Regions from separate parts of the Homo sapiens genome. Here all the other regions are linked to region 1. Evidence: promoter capture Hi-C in 16 types of primary human blood cells and fetal thymus (Javierre and others, 2016). All regions are on one chromosome and are shown on one strand. The core of a region is centred on a gene start or on the middle of the fragment in contact, and the rest is flanking DNA. Distances in the headings are between cores, read along the strand shown. Region 1 holds the start of TBK1 (TANK binding kinase 1). Region 2 overlaps LEMD3 (LEM domain containing 3). Region 3 holds the start of SRGAP1 (SLIT-ROBO Rho GTPase activating protein 1).

Region 1 (2,835 bases), core at 250-2,749:
TTCTCTGAAGTTGCCTAGAGCACCATCACAGCTAGGAAGCTTCCATCATGAATTACCTTATTTCCAAAAGCAAGTACTCAAATAATTGTCTCAAGAGAGGAAGGACAAAACTGTTACAAGCTGAAATATTTGGGGATTTGTTTGACTTGACTAGGGAACCACAAGTTTTCATATAATGCCTGATTTAGCCCTGTGCCTAACAGTTTAAATCTTAATGCTAATGTTAATTGCTTCCCAGTTGGTTGACCTTATAAGAAAACACTGTGTGGTATTTTAATGTGGTAAACATGTGAATGAAGGCCTGTGGCTCAGTTAATCACTCCCACAACTTTGAGCTGTGAGTTTTACTGGTGGAAGGAACTTTAACAGGTCTTCGCTCTTGTCATTAGATATCAAAGAACTGAAATTAGTTGGAATTGTAAGCAGTGAATAGATGTGTTGTTAGAATGATTCCATCACTTATACATTGTTTAAAATGCTAATAAAGTAACTTGCTTTGTAAGAATTCATTAGAGTGGACTTTTGTTATCTCCATTGTGCATTTGATAAAACTGAGGCTTAGAGAGGTAAGAGATTAGCTTTTAAGTCAGTAATTGGCAGCCGAGACAGCAACCCTAGGTCTGTTACATTCAAAAGCCTCTGAGCCACTCCGCATGACTTCCCATTCATTCGTGTTTGCTGCTGCTACTCTGGGAAACACCATCTTCCTCTTCCCCTCCACTCAGAAATTTAGCCCTAGATTAGCAGCGGTCTCTGCTCCCTCATGTTGAGAAAGGCCTGTTGTGCTGTCCGTGGGCAGAAGGGACCCCTTCAGAAAGCTATTCCTTATTGGGAATAGCGGCTTGAGATTTTGACTGCACGAATATTGCAGGACCTAATTTTAGTATTTAAGTTTTAGTTCTTAAATTCTTAAGTTTAGAGTTAGATACTCCAATACGGCCGTTTTCCAAAATACCGAGAGGGAATTAAATGAACATTTTTACATTAAGAATTTAATGTATTTCTGGGTGATGGGAAAATGAAAAAAACAATGTAAAGTCTGAATTACTGCGAGACGATAATCTGGCTCCACTGCAGCCAAAGTGGGCCCTTAAAACATAGAATCCATCCCTCCCAGCTCTGCCGGCCGTCTGTGCCTGCCCCCCACGTGTCCCACGTTCTGCACACCTGTAAATCTTGGGATGTAATCCCTTGCTCAGCGTCGGTCCGCCCTACTGTCGGCCAGCGCTCGGGGAAGGGGCGGGATTTGCAGTTGCGGGAATCCCAATTACTGTGTTCGCTGCTCAGGGCTCCTCATTCCCCTTTAGAGTAAAGGGCGAGGGCAACAGTGGACGGGGTGTCTCCAGACATCCCCCTCATTACCGTGGCCGCGGAAGCCGACTCGGCAGTTGCCGCCGCGGCTGTGGTGACTACCAGACGGGCCATAGGCGTGCGCACGCGCACCCGCACCGGCGCGCCGGCCGTCGGTCACGTGGCCTCCGGCCAGGGCTTGCGAAGCCGGAAGTGTCCTGAGTCTCGAGGAGGCCGCGGGAGCCCGCCGGCGGTGGCGCGGCGGAGACCCGGCTGGGTAAGTGAGACGGCCGCGGGCTGAGGGGCCAAGGCGGCGCGGGGCGCGGTCGGTCAGGCCTGCGCCGCCCGGCGGGGAGCGCTCCCGCCCCCTGTGGGAGGCTGGGATGCTGAGTCAGAGCGGGGGCGGGGGCGGGCGCACCGAGAAGCCCCGGACGACCCGAGGCCAAGCCATCCAGGACCCCGGCTGCGTGGACACTGCCTCTGGGGTGTGTGTCGGGTGGCCGTAGCCGGTGGAATGGTCGCGCGGGCCCTGTTACCTGCATCCCCGCTCCGCGCCGCGCGGCCGGTCCTCGACCTGCATCCCGTCCGGCGGCTTTGGGCATAAAGAGGACGACTCCGTTACCGGGCCTGGGCCCTGGCTGCCTGGGGAGGCAGGGGCACCTCTTTCCCTTAGACTCGCTGTTTTCTACCCTCTTTCCGAGCGTCGACACAACGGGCAGTTTTTAAATGTATTGATTTTTCAGAGGATTAAAAAGAGACGTTTCCTTAGAGTTTTAGTGATGTTCAGTCCGCAGAGGTTGACTCACACCGGAAATTAGAAGCATAAGATGTTTTAAATATATGCCGATGAAATACGAATTCCCAGACATTTCCTTGCTCCTCGTCTACCTGGCTTATGGGTTTAATTTGTAATCTCTATCCCAAGTATTCTTAGTAGGTGGCCTCAAAACAACTCCCAAGTAATTGCCAAATGTATAACCAAAGACTGGTCTTTTCCACTCTGAAACCCCAGTGTATGAATCACATAGGGGCAGAGTTTAGAAATCCTGGAACTTTGTCCATAGGCCATGTCGTCAAACCTGTTTTCATCCCTCAACAAATAGTAACTTTCGTTTTGGACGGTGTAAGGAAGTAGGCTGAAGACGGCATCATCAGCAACATAGTTGTTGAGTGTCTGCTTATATGCTTGTCAAAAATTTGGGAAGATTTATATGGCAAGCACGTTGTGGGTGTGCTGAGTCATGTTTTAACATGTTATTGTGGAGTTATTGGAAGATAATTTCAAAAGACATTTCCCCTGACCACTATTGTGATTACTGTTAAATAGAAACCATAGTTTTGTATTTGCATAGAGAACAGATATCTTAGCTGATAAATATTTTTCTTATTATCCTGAAGGTACATACATATAGGTACCTAATGGTACTATTTGCCATTTACAGTTACATTGATTAGGGAAGGTTTTTCGTTAGATAGTTGAGACGTTTGTTATTGTATCGTGAGTGAAATGTAATGACTGGCAAATGTGTATTCCTTATTTGTGAA
Region 2 (2,835 bases), core at 230-2,729, 730 kb after region 1:
TAGATTAATTAAGGGGGAGGGGGCATCTGCTATGAAGCAAACTATAATATATAATACATAGAACAATAATACAATATTAAAACTATTTCTAATTTTTAAAATATTTGCAGTCTCAAAACTGGTAGGGAAAGTGATCTTTTGATTTGTATTACCAATTACAACTTGTTCTTTCTGTTGTTCATTTTTAGGATATAAAGAACTTTTCATACATTTGATCTCCCTTTTTTGCTCCTTTTGAATAAACTTCATATTTTCCCTTTATACTCATATATGTTTTAATGGAAATGATGCATTTGATAATTTCAGGGACACTAAAATAATCATGAAAAATTATTTTCATGATTCCTAAGAGTTGGGAAGTTCTTAAAGCTTGCTTCTCCTTGCTCATTGATTATTCAATATTAACTTTCCCTATCTGAAAAATATGTTATATAAATGGAAATTTATAGCCTCAGTGCAAAGATAATTATATAGTTTGTAAGTTGTTTAAAAGAGAAGGACACCTTAAACTGTTGGAACTCTCCAAAATGTATTTGTTAATAAATAAGTACTACTAACTTGTTTGTGAAAATTTTATTACTAATGATATAATCTAAATTCGAATGAAGATATATTCTAGGGGTGGGGAGAATATCAGGAAAAATAGCTAATGCATGCTGGGCTTAATACCTAGGTGATGGGTTGATAGGTGCAGCAAACTGCCATGGCACGCGTTTACCTATGTAACAAACCTGCACATCCTGCACATGTATCCCAGAACTTAAAATAACATTTTAAAAAAGATGTATTTTAATCTTGTATTGATTATACATTAAAAATTGCTGCCATTTAATATGGGAACATAGCTTAATACTAATTGTGGAAATTGTTATAACAGTTATTTGCTTATAACTTTGGATTTTGATTTTCATATTTAGATTTATTTTTAACATAGATTTTATTTATTTTTTATTTTTTTGGAGACAGGATCTTGTTCTCTCGCCCAGGCTGGAGTGCAGTGGTGCAATATCGGCTCACTGCAGCCTCCATCTCCTAGGTTCAAGTGATTTTCCTGCCTCCACCTCCCAAGTATCTGGGATTACAGGCACATGGCACCACGCCCGGCTAATTTTTGTATTTTTTAGTAGAGATGAGGTTTCACCATGTTGGCCAGGCTGGTCTTAAACTCCTGACCTCAGGTAATCCACCTGCCTCGGCCTCTCAAAGTGCTGGGGTTACAGGTGTGCGCCACCGTGCCCTGCCCTAACATAGATTTTAAAGTGAACCAGTAACAGTATAGTTGAGCAGTAACCTTTGGATTTCACTGTTTTAATAATCTATGCTTTAAACTGCATCAGTTTATATATTATATATTATATATATAGTTAATAATATTCTTTATTAACAATATTGCCAAAATTTTTTTAAACAAGAGTTTACCAGGAAGAAAATAAGTTAGGTTTTAATAATTTATTTTGCATGTTTAATATCATTATTTAAAAAATATATTTCTTAGGAAATTAGCTCTTCAAAAAGGTTATAAAAGTTATAGTAACAGAGGTAATCTCTAAAAATAGAATAATGCATCTATCATATGGAAGCCATCATGAATTACTTTTCATATGTCTTCATTTTCTTTTATGTCAAGGTATAGTTTAAAATTATACCACTGAATTTTTCCTGGGTGCTAGATTTATTGCTCTGTGCTTTTGCACAGCTTTTTACTTAAAATGCTTTTGCAAGATGACTTCTGAATTCATCTTTACAGCTATGTTACTATCAAATGGCAAGCTAAAGTTTAAAAACAAGGCTTGGTTGTAAAACTATGCAAGAGTGTAGTTCAGCTCTCCTGAACTAATTGGGTAGTAAGTATGCACCAATTGCTGTTCTGCCCTGAATATGACATGAATAGAAAAAACCCTTTAGTAGCAAATGGATATTTTAGCACATAGCAGAAAATTAATTTTGTTTCTCAGTTAGCTCATATATATCTGAGTATGTACACAAACACACACACACACACACACAATTTTCTGACTATGGCTAATTCCTGAAAGCATGCTGTACTTACAAAGGATGCTTTTGCTCTGTAGGAATTCACCAAGGTAAAATTTTCAAAGCATATGAAGAGGATTGTTGAAATTAATTAGGAGGTGAGGGGAATCTTGGGATATCTACTTCTTCTAGCCTCTGAGCTATGGCTTGGAACCTTGGTCAGCCTTATTAAGGACTTCCTTAGTTTATAAGTGTATCTCCCATGGGATCACAAATGCTTTCTTGTTTGATTTAGTTCATTTGAAGAAACATTAAGTTTCTCCTACTCATTTATTCATTCAGTCACGCATTCACCCAGATTATTTATTGAGCACCTATACTATGTACCAGGTAATGGCAGAAGATAAGTATATATCATACCTTTTAGAACTATAGGAGTGACACTCTCCCCACGCTTTGGCTGGCATTCTCTTCTTTTTCCTAAATATTTCTGCACTAGCTAGCCTTCAGAATTGGGATTTTGTTACCATGCAACAGTGTATCAGATTTATATATTGTGACTTGGGAAACATACTTTAAAAATTAGTTTCTGTAAATTTGAGTATACCATCTGGTAAAGCTTATCACAGTGTATATATACACAAAAGAAATAGTTGGCTAATTGAAGTAATGTGTGTTGATCATTCCTTTCACCTTTTCTGTATTACCATTTTCTCAATTGGGAATTCTACCTTTAAAAACCACACAATTTTAATAAATGTAGGTTTTATTTTTTGCAGGTTTTTAGGAGTAATTTTTAAAAAAGGAAGAGACATGAAGAATGAATTTGCCAAAAATGAAAATGTTATAAAATCTGAACAT
Region 3 (2,835 bases), core at 238-2,737, 610 kb before region 1:
TTGGAACAGAAAAAATGACACTAGTCGAAAAAATTGGTAAAATTGGAATAAAATCTGGAGTTTAGTAAATAAATAAGCTAACAACGCCGTTAAGTGTGACGTGTTTCCATACCATCGCTTTCCTACCATCCTAGCTTCCCTATCTACTGTAGGAATAGAGGATATGGTGTTCAAGGTGGGTGTTTTTCTCCGCCTCGATTGAAGAGCTTCGCGCTCTTTGGATTAACAGCCAGGTCATTCACAATTCAGTGTTCAGTTTTTCTATTGGGGTCCAGCGTCTCGGAGTAACATCCCTTTGTGTCATGGATACATCCAACTCTGGACTTCCCCATTAGATTCTGGCAAAAGCCCCACCAGAGCCCCCGCCAGAGCCAGAAGGCGGTCCCTCAGGTCAGGAAGGGGTTTTCCTGCCGCCGGAGCCGCGACCTCGGCTAGCGGTGGAGCGGGGCTTCGGCGGAGGGAGGTGCGGGGCCTCGGCGGAGGGAGGTGCCGGGGGCGCCGCCCACGGCCTCCTGGGCTCGGCGCGCGGGGCCGGGCTGCGGTTGGCCACAAGAGGCATCCATCTTCCCGGACCAGCCAGGCGTTTCCTAGCGGAGCAGGGGCGGGAGCTTGGACGGAGAAGGGCACAGGCCGGAGCGCGGTCCGCTCCCGCGAGCCTGGCCCCGCCTGGCGGAGCCCCGAGGAGCCACCGCCCGCAGATCGCTAGCCGGGCGCCCGCGAGGCGCGAGCCGTGTGCGCACCCTCAACTTTGCTGCCGCCGGGGGCGCGGCTCCCGCGTGCGTGTGCGAGTGTGCCTGTCACTAGCGGCCTCCTGGGGGCAGCAGCGGAAAGGGGGACGCAGAGAAAGGCAGCCTCGGCGCACCGCGGCCAGGGAGGCAGAGGCCCCTCGCGGCGCCGGCTCTGGAGACCTAAACTCCGCCGGGGCTGTGCCCAGGGCGCGTCTGAGCGTCGCCGCCTTCACCCTCTCAGCAGCAGCGGGGACTCGCGTCAGGACTGCGATTCCTTTCGCCTGCCGAGCTGTAGCGGCAGTGTCTGCGGGCAGAGGAGCGGCGGCCGTGGCAGCAGCATCCCCAGCCCGGGCGGGACCCTTGAGCGCCGGAGCCGACAGCTGGAGGCAGGAAGGGAGGGTTGTGGCGCCCGAGCTGGGCGCGTTCCCAGCGCCTGCCCTCCGCCGCTGGCCCTGTCCCGGGCGCCCGGTGCGGGTCTCGAACAATGGTGCGGAGCGCCGGCGCGAGCCCCGCGCCCGCCCAGCGGCCGTAGAGGAAGTGGCCGGGCTCCCGGCGAGGTGGGCAGGGAGACGTCCCCCGCCACTCGCTGGCTGGAGTTTGCCTGCGCGTCCGGCCTCTCCCCCGGGGATCCCCTGGGATTACCGACGGAGCTCAATTTCGAGAGTATGGTGCCAGCGCCCGGGCTAATCTAGTCCTCTCTACTCGCTCTTTTTCCCCTCCTCCTCCTACTTCTCCTCTCCCTCCTCCCTTCCCTCGGGTCGGCGCTGCCTCTGGATTGCCTGCGTGTGGGAGTACAACTCTGCCTCTCCAAGGAGAACGGGTTGTGACCACTGAACAAAACTTGCCCATTGAAAGCAAACCCGGAACAGCTGGATAATGTCCACCCCGAGCCGATTCAAGAAGGACAAAGAGATCATAGCCGAGTATGAAAGTCAAGTCAAAGGTAAGGATGGGAGCGGCTGCCTTGCTCCTTTTGTGTGCCTTCTTGTCATTGTGCTCGTGGAGTTGCGTATCTAACTTGGTGTCTGCGTGGGAGGAAGGTGGTGAGGGGACAGCTCGAGCCCTGTCTGAGCCACCTGGGCTTCCTACAAGCCAGTTAGTTCCCAGTTGCAATCCCAGTCCCGTCAAACCCACGGGGAGCTGGAAACTGGGTGACTTCCCCCGCCAGCTGCCAGCCCGCATCTCTAATGGGGAGAGAACTGGCTTTAACTTAACCACCTTCAGCTGGGCAACTTATGTGGGAAGCAGGCAGCAGTGGAGGATCCTGTCCAGCTATTATTATCACCATCATTATTCTTTTTAAATGGTAGGATTGTCACTACGTAATTTTTTTACGGAATGATTTTTGTAAAGTCTGTGAACCCCAAGCGGTCTACAGCCTCATTGAGTGCAGGCTATTTCAGATATTTACACCACTCACCTATTTACACCGCTCACAATTTATTAGGGCGAGACCCCTTTTATTAAATAGCTCCCTAAAAGCCTGGCAGTTAAACGAAGCAGTGACTAGTGGAATCTGACTCTTCCTTTATAATGGGCCAGAATTCATTGCCATCTTTCACACTCACATGGGAATATTGCTTTATCATTTTCTGGAAGCCACTTGCATGTAAAATGAAGGTTTGAATATTTGAGTAGTAGTTTCAGTCCATTTACATTGTCAACTAATGAAGGAAACCTAATTAAGGCTGATTATTTTTACTTTCTATGCCTTGTGATTAAAAATATATATATTTTCTCTCCAATACAAGTATTTTGTTTTGTTACTGAAGTGTTTCGTAAACATATGTGTTACTTGAATTTTTTCCTCCTCTTTCCTGAGGTCTCAGGAGTAGCTTTCCTGATTGAGACAATGGATGGAATGTTGGGACCGCCACTGTTCTTTGACACATTCAATGCAAAGTTCATAAAGATTGCTATGTATACACCTGTGTTTATCTATGCACAGTCTTATGAAAGGGCTACGGAGAGAGGCATTACTGTACTTCCCTTGAGCAAGGGAGGAGCAGCCTGAGTGTTCTTTTGTGTGGTCAAGTTGTAAAAATGCCTGGAGTCCTGTGAGAGGACCTGGTGGAGAAATCCTGTATCATCCAGTGTGAATACAGAC

Evidence for each region. Contacts are between HindIII fragments. The CHiCAGO score rates a contact against its expected background, and 5 or more counts as called.
Region 2: a contact is called between a fragment that was not itself captured here and the fragment with the promoter of TBK1 in region 1, in 1 of 17 cell types (total CD8 T cells). The highest score is 5.5, in total CD8 T cells.
Region 3: a contact is called between the fragment with the promoter of SRGAP1 here and the fragment with the promoter of TBK1 in region 1, in 1 of 17 cell types (naive CD8 T cells). The highest score is 5.8, in naive CD8 T cells.

Annotation. Positions count from the first base shown.
Region 1 is chr12:64,450,621-64,453,455 of GRCh38, forward strand. TBK1 (TANK binding kinase 1) reads left to right here and starts at 1,500. Exons shown (of 21, transcript NM_013254.4): 1 at 1,500-1,567. It overlaps XPOT (exportin for tRNA), which reads left to right. Exons shown (of 25, transcript NM_007235.6): 25 at 1-505. RefSeq lists a silencer at 1,371-1,840. The HindIII fragment of the contact is 9,573 bases long and covers 38-2,835 here.
Region 2 is chr12:65,179,004-65,181,838 of GRCh38, forward strand. All of the region lies in intron 1 of LEMD3 (LEM domain containing 3), which reads left to right. Among named protein-coding and RNA genes, the nearest start is that of LEMD3, 11 kb to the left of the region's middle. The HindIII fragment of the contact is 2,224 bases long and covers 368-2,591 here.
Region 3 is chr12:63,843,213-63,846,047 of GRCh38, forward strand. It overlaps SRGAP1 (SLIT-ROBO Rho GTPase activating protein 1), which reads left to right and starts at 1,488. Exons shown (of 22, transcript NM_020762.4): 1 at 1,488-1,671. The coding sequence starts at 1,605. RefSeq lists silencers at 421-840, 901-960, 1,071-1,330 and enhancers at 493-994, 995-1,494. The HindIII fragment of the contact is 14,499 bases long and covers 1-2,835 here.